Regions from separate parts of the Homo sapiens genome. Here regions 1 and 3 are each linked to region 2. The links are contacts of gene promoters, found by promoter capture Hi-C in blood cells and fetal thymus (Javierre and others, 2016). All regions are on one chromosome and are shown on one strand. Each heading gives the region's core, a stretch centred on a gene start or on the middle of the fragment in contact. The rest is flanking DNA. Distances are from core to core; before and after follow the strand shown.

Region 1 (4,194 bases), core at 40-2,539, 2.2 Mb before region 2:
TCAGTATATCAAAGATATATCTGCACTCCCATGTTTGTTGCAGCACTGCTTACAATAGCTGAGATTTGGAAGCAATCTAAATGTCCATCAACAGATGAATGGATAAGGGAAATGTGGTACATATACACAATGAAGTACTATTCAGCCATGAAAAGGAATGAGATCCTATCATTTGAACAAAATGGATGGAACTGGAGATCATTATGCTAAGTGAAATAAGCCAGGCACAGAAAGACAAACATTGCATGTTCTCAATTATCTGTGGGATCTAAAAATCAAAACAATTGAACTCATGGGCATAGAGAATAGAAGGATGATTAGCAGAGGCTGGGAAGGGTATTGAGGAGCTGGCAAGGGAGATGGGGACAGTTAATGGGTACAAAAAAATAGAAAGAATGAATAAGACCTACTATTTGATAGCATAACAGGGTGACTGTGGTCAACAATAACTTAATTGTACATTTAAAAATAACTAGAGTGTAATTGGATTGTTTGTAACACAAAAGATAAATGCTTAATGGGATGGATACCCTATTCTCCATGATGTGATTATTTCACATTGCATGCCTGTATCAAAACATCTCAAGCACCCCATAAATATATATACCTACTATGTACCCATAAAAATTAAAAATTTTAAAAAAAATTTTTAAAGAAAAGTCAATAAGCCATCCTCCCACAGGGTTAACAAGAATTCTAGACAGAAATATAATTATATTAATCAGGCTGCACTTTGGCCCACTTCCTTGTAACTGAAAGTCACTAGATACTGACCATTTGTATCCCCACTGTTCCTATTGATAGAATTGCTGACATTAGAATCATAAAGCTTCTGTTTAAGGATTGCTTAAGAAGTTTTTCAGATCCTGAGTTCCAGGGAAACAGTTCAAAGACCCTCACAGAGGAATCAGCATGAGAATACAGTTTCTTCATCTCCCTATCCCATGACTTCACCTTGCACTCTTCAAGCAATCAACGATCTCCACACTTTGGCCCACTCCAAGACCTTTAAAAACCCTAGCCCCAAACTCCTGGGCAGATGGATTTGAGATTTCCTCCCATCTCCTCATTTGTCTGCCCTACAATCAAATCTCTTTCTCTTCTGCAACCCAGTGTCTCAGCATACTGACTTGCCAAATGCACTGGGCAAAGATGGTCATTTACTTTGGCGATACTAATTCATCCTTTTACCAGTTTCTTATATTGAGTGCTAATGGACGGATTCAGGGCCATTTAAATTGAGTTTTCTGTTTCTTATTGCCACACTTATTCCACTAAGACAAGTCACTTGAAGACCTTGCTAATGAAGATTAGTATCTCCATTAATCAGACTTAAAATAGACCCCAACTGGTGAGCTACAAGATGGAGACTATGACCTGGGATCCCCAATCTCCTTTTACCTATCCTCCCACAGACTGTGAAATGAGAGACACATTAAGACACATGCAGGCTGTGTATAGGGAGACTAATATTTTAACTCACACAGTAACTTGTGTGAGATTGGGAGGTACAGATGCTCCAAAGGGGCTGGGAGCGTGGTAGACACAGGATACGTCTCAGAGCAGAAAACACTTTCTGTTTCCTACTAAGCTCATCATGTCTACTCCTCTCCTGCCACCTCCCCATCAATTCCCTAAATTCAATACACTTTTTGTAGCCTCCTCTAAGTAAATAAGCATATCACCACTCCTACCATATTGCCATTTTTCTTTTTCATCGGCATTCAAGATAAAAATACAGTAAGCTTTTTTCTCATTTAGCATTCTTCCTCCTGTTCATTAAATCTGCTAGCCTTGCAACAGTATAGTTTTCTACCATACTGCAAACAATGCTTGCAAACAATGTTTCAGCCCTATTATGGACTCATAATTGAGCTGACCTTGGAATTATAATACTTTCATTTTTCTGTAGGAAAATGCATTTCAAGTTACAAACAATAGATCTGCAATTAAGCTTTGGGACATGTTTATAGATGTGAGGTGGATTGATTGGCATGACCCCTCACACACAAAAGGCAACTACAAAAAAGCAATTAGAATGGTGCTTTCAAAGACAGGAAACAAATTCTTCCACAACATTTCAAATCTGCTTTAAAATACTAGATCTAGCCTCTCTTCCCTTCCCTCCATTAAAAAAAAAAAATGAAAGGGAAGAATGGAGAAAGGAAAGAAGGGTCATAATTTAGAATGCGTAAATTCTTATTACTGAGCTGAATGACCCTGATCTACAAACTCACCCTCAGAAGCCCTAAAGATCCAAGAATACAGCATCTGTATAGTACTCAAACTCAGTAATATTGTTCTCTGAAAAGCTAATTAATCCTGCCTCTCACACCTCATGCTAGATTGTTTTATCAGGAGAAAGAATGCTAAGGGTAAGGAAGTTTTTATATGGCTAGAAGATGCTATTAGAGAGGTTCAAGAATGAGTGTTTATAATTAGGAAAAGCAGAAGGTTGGTGATGAGGGCCAAGAAATGAACTCCCTTCTGCAATAACAGAGCCAGGCCTGTAGAATCCAGAGAATCAAAATACTCTGAATAAGCCCTTAATCCACAGAAAAGTGGTGAACTGCCTCATATGTAGACCACTGTGTCCATAATAACCATCATTTACTCTGCGTTTTTGCCTTATTGATAGGGTCTTTTTCCTTCTGCTCCGCCTCAGTTAAATGGCTCTCAGAGTGTGAAGAGGTTGTAAAAAGACTGTGTAGTCTAACTACAGGAGTTCTACTTGGGACCTGTATTGTGAGCCACTTGGTCAAAATTAATTTACCATGATCTTTGCACACCTTCCTACTTGATATATAGATTTTTTCTTTTGGATATATAGCTGGGTATATATCCAAAAGAAAATAAATTGTTCTTCCAAAAAGACACCTGTACTCATATGTTTGTCAAAGCACTATTCCCAATAGCAAAAATATGGAATCAATCTAGGTGTCCTTCAATGTTGGGTTGGATAAAGAAAATGTGGTACATCTACACCATGGAATACTACACAGCCATAAAAAAGAATAAAACCATGTCAGCATGGTGGGCTCATGCCTGTAATCCCAGGATTTTGGGAGGCCGAGATGGGAGTATCACTTGAGGCCAGGAGTTCAAGACCAGGCTGGCCAACATAACAAGACTCCACCTCTTAAAAAAAAAAAAATTAAAACTTGTCCTTTGCAGCAACATGGATGGAGTTGGAAGCCATTATCCTAAGCAAATTAACAGAGGAACAGAAAACCAAATACTGTGTGTTCTTACTTATAAGTGGGAGCTAAACATTGGGTGTTAATGGGTGTAAAGATGCAACAATAGACACTGGTGGACTACTGGCAGGGTGGGGAGAAAGGGCTGAAAGACCATTGGGTACTATGCTCACTACTTGCATTATGGGATCATTCATATCCCAAACCCCAGCATCATGCAATATACTCATGTAACAAACCTGCACATGTACCTCCTGAATCTAAAATTAAAGTTGAAATTATATTTTTTTAAATCAAATTTTTAAGGAACATCATGGCAGCCTCTACCTAGATGTAGGCACTAGTAACAGCCCTGTTCCTAAAATCTGCACCCATCTCCACTCCCACTTCCGATCTCTCTCTCTCTCTCTCACTAGATTTCCAGCTCAAAGATAGCAAACATAGATCCCTCTTGGTCTAAATTCCTCCTTCATAAAATGAAAGTAATAGACTAGACTGTGGTTGCTACCCTGGACAAGAGTCATCAGTGTTAAAGATCCCTAGAATGAGGAATGTTCTCTTAAAGTCCCAGCTAAACAAATAATAGGGTGAAGAGATAATAGGGTGAAGGATTTTTAAGTGAGTCATGGATGACCTTAAAAAGAAACAGGTTTCAAATCAGTGCCCTAACACAATGTCCAGCAAAAATAACATAGGTATCAACTCTCTCCACTAATATTATTAATATTATAATAATAATTTCAACTAATAATCATATTAGTGGAAATTAATAGATGCTTTCCAACAGGTGCCTAAAGTCATCTTAACTTTAGGCCTATATCTTAGGAAAGGCTGGATCCCAGATCTTAAGAATCCAAATTCTATGTTCTTTCTACCTCACTTGGCTGCCTTACTTTAAAATTTTGCAAAGTGCTTTCATATACATTACTTCTCAACAACTTTATATACCCATCTGTAGAGGTGTAGATGTGGTGTTAGTTAAAAGCCATGAAAAATT
Region 2 (4,420 bases), core at 1,600-4,099:
ACCCAACCACCTCACCGTCCCCCAACCTCCATCCCTATTCCTATTCATCCTTTAAAATCTTATTCAAGTCATTACCTCCTGTTTGCCTTTCCTAAATTCTGCAATTACCCCCTTTCCCTATGCCAAATCATTCCCATCTCTAGATTTTGAAAATGCTTCTACTATTGTACTATGTATATTACACTGTGAAAGAAGATTTTTTTAAGAAAAGACAATTATCGCCACTGCTAGGCTTAAAGCCCACCTAGGGACTTTAAACTTCTTAAAATTTTATATTCTCAGGATCCAACATAGTAAAGGCTTAAATAAATCTTGTTATTTAACTGAAGAAAATATCTATGGCTACAAAAAAAAAAAAAAAGTACTGGTTACTAACCTCTCCAAACTATTAAGTACAAAAATCACTTTGAAATGGTCATGTATGTATCTGGTTTCCAAAGAAATCTTCTCTAAGAAACTCAAAGGAATTTCTAAGATTGTAAAGACAAACCCAGCATACTTTCTAGAGGTTTCATACACTTCACATATGTAGAGTTCAATTTTCACTTAAATAATTATTATTAATGCTGTGATTAGATATGAAAATAAAGGGCTTTTGTAACATTTACCTAAGAGCACCTAACACCTGCAGTTTTCTCTAAAGCAAAATTAACTCACCTAATTTCACATCCCATAATAAGTACGTTTCTTAAACAGTGTAGAAATGTTTCCATATTGTGACTACAGAAATACTTCTTGTATTATTAGCTAAACGAGTATTAAGATGTTAGGACACAAAATTTAATCTTGTTATCAGCTTTAAATATCCTAGCAAATCTCAAGATTTCCTTTACCCTAAAATGATGTCTCCCAAAGTTAAAGCCTAATGATGAGAGTAACAACAAAAAGACTGCACATAAGCACATTATTCAAATTACTCCTTCTGAAACTGTACTGAAAGTAAGAGTGGTTAAAAACACCAATATAAGAGCATCCAAACACTGAGACACAAAAAATTTGAGTTTTGCTGGCACTTGAAGGCCACAGTCTGATAACAATTGATTAAAGAGGACAAGAAACATCTAATGTTGTTAAATGTGTGGGTGTGGATCCTGAAGATGGCTAACGTTAACAAAAATAAAAAGTAAAAAAAAATCAGGATAAATTCACCGCTGGCAAAGTTCAGTAATTTAACAAAGCTGTATATTATTATTTAAGTCTAAGTGCAACTTCTGGCTATCTCACAGCTAACTCTAAGTTAAACGCTTAAAGTTGGGAAAAACTAAAAGGTAATAAACATGTACCATGGAAGCTTTACAAGTTTTACCAAGTAAAGACATGCTCTGTTTCAACAAGCTACCACACCTTGTTAAATACTAAGAATGTGCTAACAATACAAACTAGGTAGACCTCTGTCTACAGTGGACTTCTTATTAATTACAGGACAATCTAAAAATCAGCTTCAAAAAAGAATCCCCTTGATGTGAATCAGTATCCACCAGGAAAAAAACAATTAATCAAAAACTGATCATTTAAAAATCAGTCACTTTAATTCCCTCATTTTTACAGTAATACAAAGTCAGAACAGGAAAGATACCTACTTGGGTTATATTTTCAAATCTAATAGTCACTGCTCTTAAACTCCAAAATGTACCCGTATCTTCAAATACCCTTGAAATATGCAACTACCCTAAAGAATATTTAGTTCAGAAAGCAGTACAGAAAGGTCTCAATTTACAAGAGAGACAAACAAGCACTGACTTTAGAAAACTCAGGCCAAAACAAGTCAAGGGTATGATGTGCACAACGATCTAACTGAAATGACACATTTTCCTTACTAATTAAATTAGGAAACACTTTTGTGTTCTACTTACACTCTGTAACACTGAAAACACAAACATGTTTACACAAAGGCGATGTTTTTAGCTCGTCTCACTGATGTGTCTCCAACCCTCGTCTCCCCCGCTCCTCGAGATTTGCTAGCTCCGTGAATTTCCCTCGATAGGCAAAGTTTGTCACCGATAATATAAGAAGCGCAAAAGGAATATGTTTTTTAAAATACCTAAACCTTAAAAAAAAAACCCACAAACCCGAACTATTAAAACTTACTTTCCCACCAATGCGCACTTGTGCCTGCAGTTTGGCGAGTTTTTCCTGGTTCATGATTGTTTCTTTCATCTAGAAAAAGAGGAAATCCTCAGCAAGGATAGGTTTAGCTCACTCTAGCATTCCATGCTCGTTATTTCCCAAGATACCAGCAGGAAAATAAACGTCCTACACAGGCCGAAACCTGGATCCCAAATCCACCCCGCAAAGCTCCAAATTTGGGTTTCCAGGGAGCCCAAAGAGCACCCGCCTCCCCACCACTCCCCCACAGCTCCCCGCTCTTGGCAGGCCCGGATGAAAGGCTCTACCCCACGCCTGGCCAGCACCCCCCACCCCTGGCCCTGGCCTGGCCTCGGCCTAGCCAGGGCCTGCCCGGCCCGGCCACTCTCCGCAAGCCTCGCGGTACCTGAGGCTCCTGTCCTCGGGTTCCGCCGCGAGGTGGAGGTTGAGACAGCGTCGCCTCGCCCCCAGGGCAGCCGCCCCTGGCTCGACCTCGCCCCCGAGAGTCAGCCTGAGCGGGTGCGCCTGTCCGTCGCATCGCCTTCCTCTCCTCCTCTGCCCTGTCCCTCCCTGTCTCGCTCCTTCAGGGAACTTCCCGCCCCCGCTCCCGTCCTCCTACCACGCCGCCGTCCAGAGCCTTTTTGTACCTTGTCGGAGCGAATAAGGGGCCGCGCGGGGGACTAGGGTTGGTGCTCAAGGGGTCTCGGGTGGACCACCTGAGATTAGGCGCACACACGCGGGGACGCAAGATGGCAGCTAAAGGGAGGCCGGAAGTGACACAAGGCCACTTCCTTCAAGAGTCAGGAAACTGACTTCGCCGCGAACTCGGTTCCTCCCTGCGCACGCGCGACAGCGTTTGTGATGGTCCAGCGAGTCCCTATTCTCCTCCTCCTGCTCCAGCGGCTGCCGGCTGTAGGCCCTACGAGAGACTGCTGGCTTGGGGCGCAGCCCGTACCTCTGGGAGAGGCCACAAAGGGGTCGGAGAGCGCGGTCCTGTGCACAGTTAGGGTTAAGTCCGCTCAGTCTCCATTGGGCCCTGATCCTGAAGTTCTGTGCCCTCCGAAGAAAGGGCCTATTCACGTTTCCTGGAGACGCCGGAGGTGCCCAGCTTGTGCTCACCACTCAAGCAGCTCTCCCCTTGCTGGAGGTGTGGGTTGGAGAATTGCAGAATTTCCCTCTCGGCCCGAATGAGCCATTACCAAAGCATTTTGTCAAAAATAGTGAAGTTAGTTTGGCCTTCCAAGGTTAGGTGGTGTGGTAGATTGCGGGACCGAGGTTCAGAATTTCTGGGGGCTGTATCCCCGAGCCCCACTCCTCAGAATGCAACTCTGTACGACGAAGGAACTGGGTAATCCGCATTTCAGCCAATTTAGCAGATGACTAACCACCTTAAAACGGTCCACACAATTATCTTGTTTATCAGGCAAAAAAATTGACTCCTAGGTACCGAATTGGCATGGATTTGACAATTAGCGATTCACGGTTAAGCAGACTTTATCTATCTTAATCCAATCAAAGGAGAATTTCTGCCTGCTGTGTTTGGAGAGACAACGCGTGGATGTGAGTTAAACTTTGTTAAACCCAGGACAAGCTTTAAGATAAAACGACTGATATTTAAAATGGCAATTTAAATAAAAATGTTCTCTGATCAGCCTTTTTGTGGTCTTAACCATGAAATGTCTTTGCATATTCAAAAGTGAGTCCGAAATCTTAGAATGCAATGTGTGTAGCAAGAAAACTTGTTCAAGTGCAGACCCCTCTCCAGTTAAGATCAATGTTTAAACTTTTTGAATACTTTTTACATATAAGTTTGTTGCAACTGATGTCTCAAGAACATAACTGGTGAGGACAGCTGTATTGCCTTTTAGAATAATTGTTACAGTTATATTTACAAAAAACAATGTTGCTTCAGTTAAATATGAGTGAAGTTTTAGTACAGGTAAGGGTGTTTGTAGTTAGGCTTATGTGGGTTACCTTCCTAATGACAAAGGCCAAAATGGCAGTACCAACATTATGCTGTGCTCTGGAGATATTACAAAATATATAGAAAGACTCCCCCTTTTGGAAGAAATGTGTATCTTTGTCCAGGAACAGTTTTTTTCCTCTCCTCCATGTTATATTGGAGGCATTTGAAACTTCCTAGTCACGTGATGTTTTCTGAGCTTTTATAGAGACAAGATTGTATGTATGTAACCTGCCACCTTTTTTTTCTTTTTCTTTGCCTTCCCTCTCCTCTGCCCTTTTAATACACCTGTTTTCAGGAAATATTGTGAGCTACTTTTATTTATTTATTTATTTCTACTTTTTGAAACCAGGGATGCTGCTAATTTTATTT
Region 3 (4,440 bases), core at 660-3,159, 2.0 Mb before region 2:
GAGCGGTTCAAGTCGGACCTCTTAAAAGAGGTTGGTCTCTCTGAGGATGCCAAGCCGAGTAGGTTGGGGGGCACTGCGGACGCAACTCTTTCGACAGAAGCTGGAGCGACTCAGCTTGGTGTTGAAATTTGAGGTGTTGAATTCTGCTAGGTTAGATGTAGTGAGACAGATGAATGTGGAGGACTTTCTCCCTCACCCTGTACCTTAGTTCAGAATAGAGATATTGAATCGGCACATGATGGGTACAGGAAATATTCATAGTAACTTGGAACATGTGAGAATGGAGACTGATCTTTAGTCCAGGAAGAGCATTACTTAATAATAAAATATTTTTGCGGTAAGGGGTCGAGGGTAAGGAAAAGATGTTTTATCTTTTATATATTTTTTAAAATCCCTGTATCAAAATTTTAGCAAAGCAGTCATTATAGGACTGCAGGTGGATGATCTCTTGATATTACATAGTTGTGGGGATTTTTTTTTTAAGTTTTTGCTGTAAGAAGATTCACGTAGCCTTTTTGACTTCTCTCTCCCTTCCTGTTAAACTTTTTTAGACATGGCTGGAGCTAGCAGTTAACTTGGAGAGGGGGAGCTGGGCCAGTCCCTCAACAAGCTGGTCATAAGATACTATGTCATGTGCAGCCAGTGGCTATTAAGAAATCACCCTGTTTCCAGTATTCATATTTGGCAAATCACTTGGACATTATTTGTGGAATTGTTTCATATTAGGCTTTTATAATGTCTAGAAAGCTAATGAGAAGGGGGCCAGGAAAGGCATGAGTAGTCAGAACTAAGGATTGCAAGTGTTGACTTTTATTTGTATAGCAGCAAAATTATGTTGTATATTGATGCTGTGATCATTCTTGAAATTTCAGTGCAAGGTTTTCAGTAACGAGAAGCTCCTCAGGATTTCTTTAGATTAAATGTATCCTGTAATTTAGGAATCTCTATTGAACACATTGTGTAGTAGGTATACATTTTCAGTTGGTAATAGGAAGTGGGTTACTTGCTTCTCAGTGATTTTGGTAGTTTCATCACTGCTCATAAGATGGGAAGCTGACTGCCATATTAGTATTGTGATGTGTTAAGTATTTTACGAAACAAATTGTACTTTTGACCTACTGATAATTACTTTTTTGGGGGTTGGGGGAGTGGAGTGACCGGGGGAAAAAGTAACCAGTGCTCTGGAGTAGGTATACTATAGATAAAAAAATGGAAGACCAATCTCGATATTTAAATGCATACAAATGTATTTGATCACCTCTATGGAAGGTGAATAGCTTAAATTTTGACTGTTGCTGCATATGTAGAATGAATAGGAATAAAGCTTTTGGTATTCTTGCTCAAAGCTATGAAGGAAATTTTCCTGAGATTTACCAATTTATGGTTATATACAGTTTTCTGGAAGCTTTTTAATCAAGGGTATTCTAAATTGAGTATATATACTCATACTGAGTATGGTAGATGTTTTTAAATGTAAATTATATAGTTTGAATTCTTTGTATTCACCTGGTAATTTAAACAAAGGTCAGAACTCGGATTTTGTTCTTTTCCTTCCATTGAGTAATGTAAATAAGTCCCGGTACAATTCATTTTGTTTCTCCCCCAAAATGGGGTGGATTTGGAATGGGCTTGGGTAAATTTATATTAGAAATATACCAGTTCAAAGGGTATTTTCCATATGGTAATCTGAAATACATGGAAATACCTATGAAGCATATTTCTTATAAATCACTTAAGTGTATAGATTCCAAAAATACTAGATAGACAATAATTCTATCTAGTTATAGCAAGTATCGTGATGGATCATGGTGGGGAAAAGATGCATGCCTTAGTAGGACTTGAGAGCACCTAAGCCTGGATAAAATAATCTCATTCAATTTCTGAATTTCCTCCATCCTTCATGGTTTACCTTCTGTTTTTCCACACACCAAACTGTTTGAAATTCTGTCCATCCTTAAGAGTCCAAGCCAAATACTGTCCTTTCCATAAAGCCTTTTCTTATTTTGCCATCATTCAAGACCTCCTTCACTTGAATTCCCATAGCATTTTGTTTGTAGCTTGCTTCTGACTCTTATTCTAAATATATATTTTTTTCTCTTGAGTTTGTGTCTGCTGGCCTGTTGGCCACAGTAATATTTGATTCCCCTGCAGTGTCTAGCATATTGCCTTATCTGTATTTGTTAAATGGGGAAGAGTGAGGGAACATTATGAGAGCAGAGAAAAGACAAAAAACTTGTCTTCCAGGTGTCATGATACAGCTAATACTTACTGAGTAAAGGGTCCTGAAGCTGATACAGTTTGTTCAGTCTCTTATAAGAACTAATATTAAGTTATGGATACATAATTGCTGGGGCTTCTCCTCTAACATTGAAAGAGTTCTATTCTAGTGAGAAATGCTGAAGGTTAAGCTTCATTAGCTATGTATAACTCTTCCTCAGATTCAGAAAATACTATGTCCAGGCACTGTTCTAAGTCTATTCTTGTTTAAACTTAACTCTAAGAGAATTTGACAAAGAAAAAAAGAACACAAAGAGAATAAGTAACTTGACCACTGTCACAAAGTTTAGCCTTATGAAGTGTGGTAATTGTAAATGAGGTAGGATTAATCCATGAAGGGTCTTGAATGCCCTAAACAATTTGTATGACAGTCAGTGGGAAGTTGTCCATGTAAGTTTTGGAGCTAGAGACTCAATACGATCAATGTAAGAAAAGTAGGCAAATATGCTTAGTAAGTAAATAAGCTTGTGTAAATTATGAAAAAAACAGAAGATACTAGAGAAAAAATTATTAAGTCTCCTAAGGAATACAGGAACTGGATAATTTGATTGGAATAGTTGAAAATGAGAAGAGGAGGCAAATTTAAGGGTTTACTATGAAGGAAAGATGAGCAGCTTTTGGTAATGGGCTATAAATATTGAGAAGGAACACTTAGGTATTGAGTATCTTCTGTGACTATGCTAGGCATTTTCATTATTTTATTCGGCCGTCAGTCAACAGGCAAAGAAACTGAAGTTTACAAAAGTAACTTGTCAAAACTCTCTTCACATGAGTTATAAAATAGTTGAGCCTATTTTATCCTATATCCACTAATCTGTTTGTATATCTAATACACTAACTCTGAGCAGAAGTAGCAGTCTCCCCAAGGAAGTAGGAAAATAGGAAGGAAGTATACTTTATAGGAAGGTGAATTCAGTTTTATTGGTAACTATCATTTATTTCAAGCCCGTGTCTAAGTGGTGGTACATCTCAAGCAGTTAGAAATAAGGAAATGGTGATTGGGAGCCACTAGAATGAGTTAAATGTTGGCTTGGGTGAGTTCTCAGAGAGTGGTTGTAATGATGGGGCTTAGAAAAATTAAGAACTGGCTAGGGATGGTGGCTCACCTGTAGTCCCAGCACTTTGGGAGACCAAGGAAGACAGATCGCTTGAGCCCAGGAGTTTGAGACGAGCCTTGGCACCATAGCGAAACCTCATTTCTACAAAAAATTAGCCAGATGTGGGGGTGCACACCTGTAGTCTCAATCACTTGGGAGGCTGAGGTGGGAGGATTGAGCCCAGGAGATTGCGGTAAACTGAGATGGTGCCACTGCACTCCATCCTGGGTGACAGAGCGAGACCCTGTCTCAAGAAAATACTAAATAAAAGAAAATTTAAGAAGTGAATCAATCTCAAAAATGCTTAATTAGAGAACAGAAAAATAAAAGATTTCTCAGTGGATATAGAGCCTGAGCCAATGCAGTATATTTTGGCAATCCATTTTTAATTAGTTTTTGGAATTGGCAGATAGTTTTTGAGATTTTTCTATACTTAACACCCCAGAGCATAGATAAAAACATGCAAAAATAAGTATTCCTGTAAAGGTTACATTTCTGCCTTTTCCAGTTTATTGTGATCTTCACTTTGCAGCAAGACTTTAGCAACACAGAAACTCTTAAGGTATTGAAGACAATCCAATATGTTTTTGAAAAGCAATTTTATTTTTGTTTTATTACTCTTGAGTTTGAAAAATGCATGTTCAGAGGAACTTGGAAAATGTATTGGCCATTTTTAATATTATTCAGTTCTGTAGAGGAAAAGTTAAAGTTGATGCCAGCTTACTAAAGATTATTATTTTTATTTTGATATAGTTACAGCTGTTATAAATTTTCATATAGGAATAACAACAAAAGTAGAGTTTAGCAATAATTGACTTTATACTTCCGTTGATTTAGAAGGCTTCATGCAGTCTTTGGTGTCAGAATGAGAGACTACATACATAACTGAACATACTTCTCTGTTGAATATGTTAATTATGACAAGGACCAAAACAAATATCATGAAGGTACTTAGGAGAGGATGAAAGCATACGAAGAATAAACAATAATTTTAACCAAAATCTGGCTTTCGTTTTATTCTTCAAATGTTAGAAGAAAATGTTATATTTTATTTCTTACAGATTTA

Evidence for each region. The method cuts DNA at HindIII sites, captures the fragments that hold promoters and counts their contacts. A CHiCAGO score of 5 or more calls a contact.
Region 1: a fragment that was not itself captured here is called in contact with the fragment with the promoter of BTF3 in region 2 in 1 of 17 cell types (fetal thymus); the score reaches 6.5 in fetal thymus.
Region 3: a fragment that was not itself captured here is called in contact with the fragment with the promoter of BTF3 in region 2 in 1 of 17 cell types (fetal thymus); the score reaches 6.4 in fetal thymus.

The regions. Positions count from the first base shown.
Region 1 is chr5:75,722,377-75,726,570 of GRCh38, reverse strand. All of the region lies in intron 2 of LOC441087 (a long non-coding RNA gene), which reads right to left. Among named protein-coding and RNA genes, the nearest start is that of POC5, 7.0 kb to the right of the region's middle. The HindIII fragment of the contact is 916 bases long and covers 832-1,747 here.
Region 2 is chr5:73,496,871-73,501,290 of GRCh38, reverse strand. BTF3 (basic transcription factor 3) reads right to left here and starts at 2,849. Exons shown (of 6, transcript NM_001037637.2): 1 at 2,492-2,849; 2 at 2,089-2,157. The coding sequence starts at 2,623. BTF3-DT (BTF3 divergent transcript) reads left to right here and starts at 2,971. Exons shown (of 1, transcript NR_186388.1): 1 at 2,971-3,738. RefSeq lists a silencer at 2,365-2,414 and enhancers at 2,051-2,861, 2,625-2,924, 2,955-3,014. The HindIII fragment of the contact is 2,385 bases long and covers 1,294-3,678 here.
Region 3 is chr5:75,506,332-75,510,771 of GRCh38, reverse strand. The region is part of intron 1 of CERT1 (ceramide transporter 1); the gene reads left to right. Among named protein-coding and RNA genes, the nearest start is that of CERT1, 3.1 kb to the left of the region's middle. The HindIII fragment of the contact is 1,003 bases long and covers 1,408-2,410 here.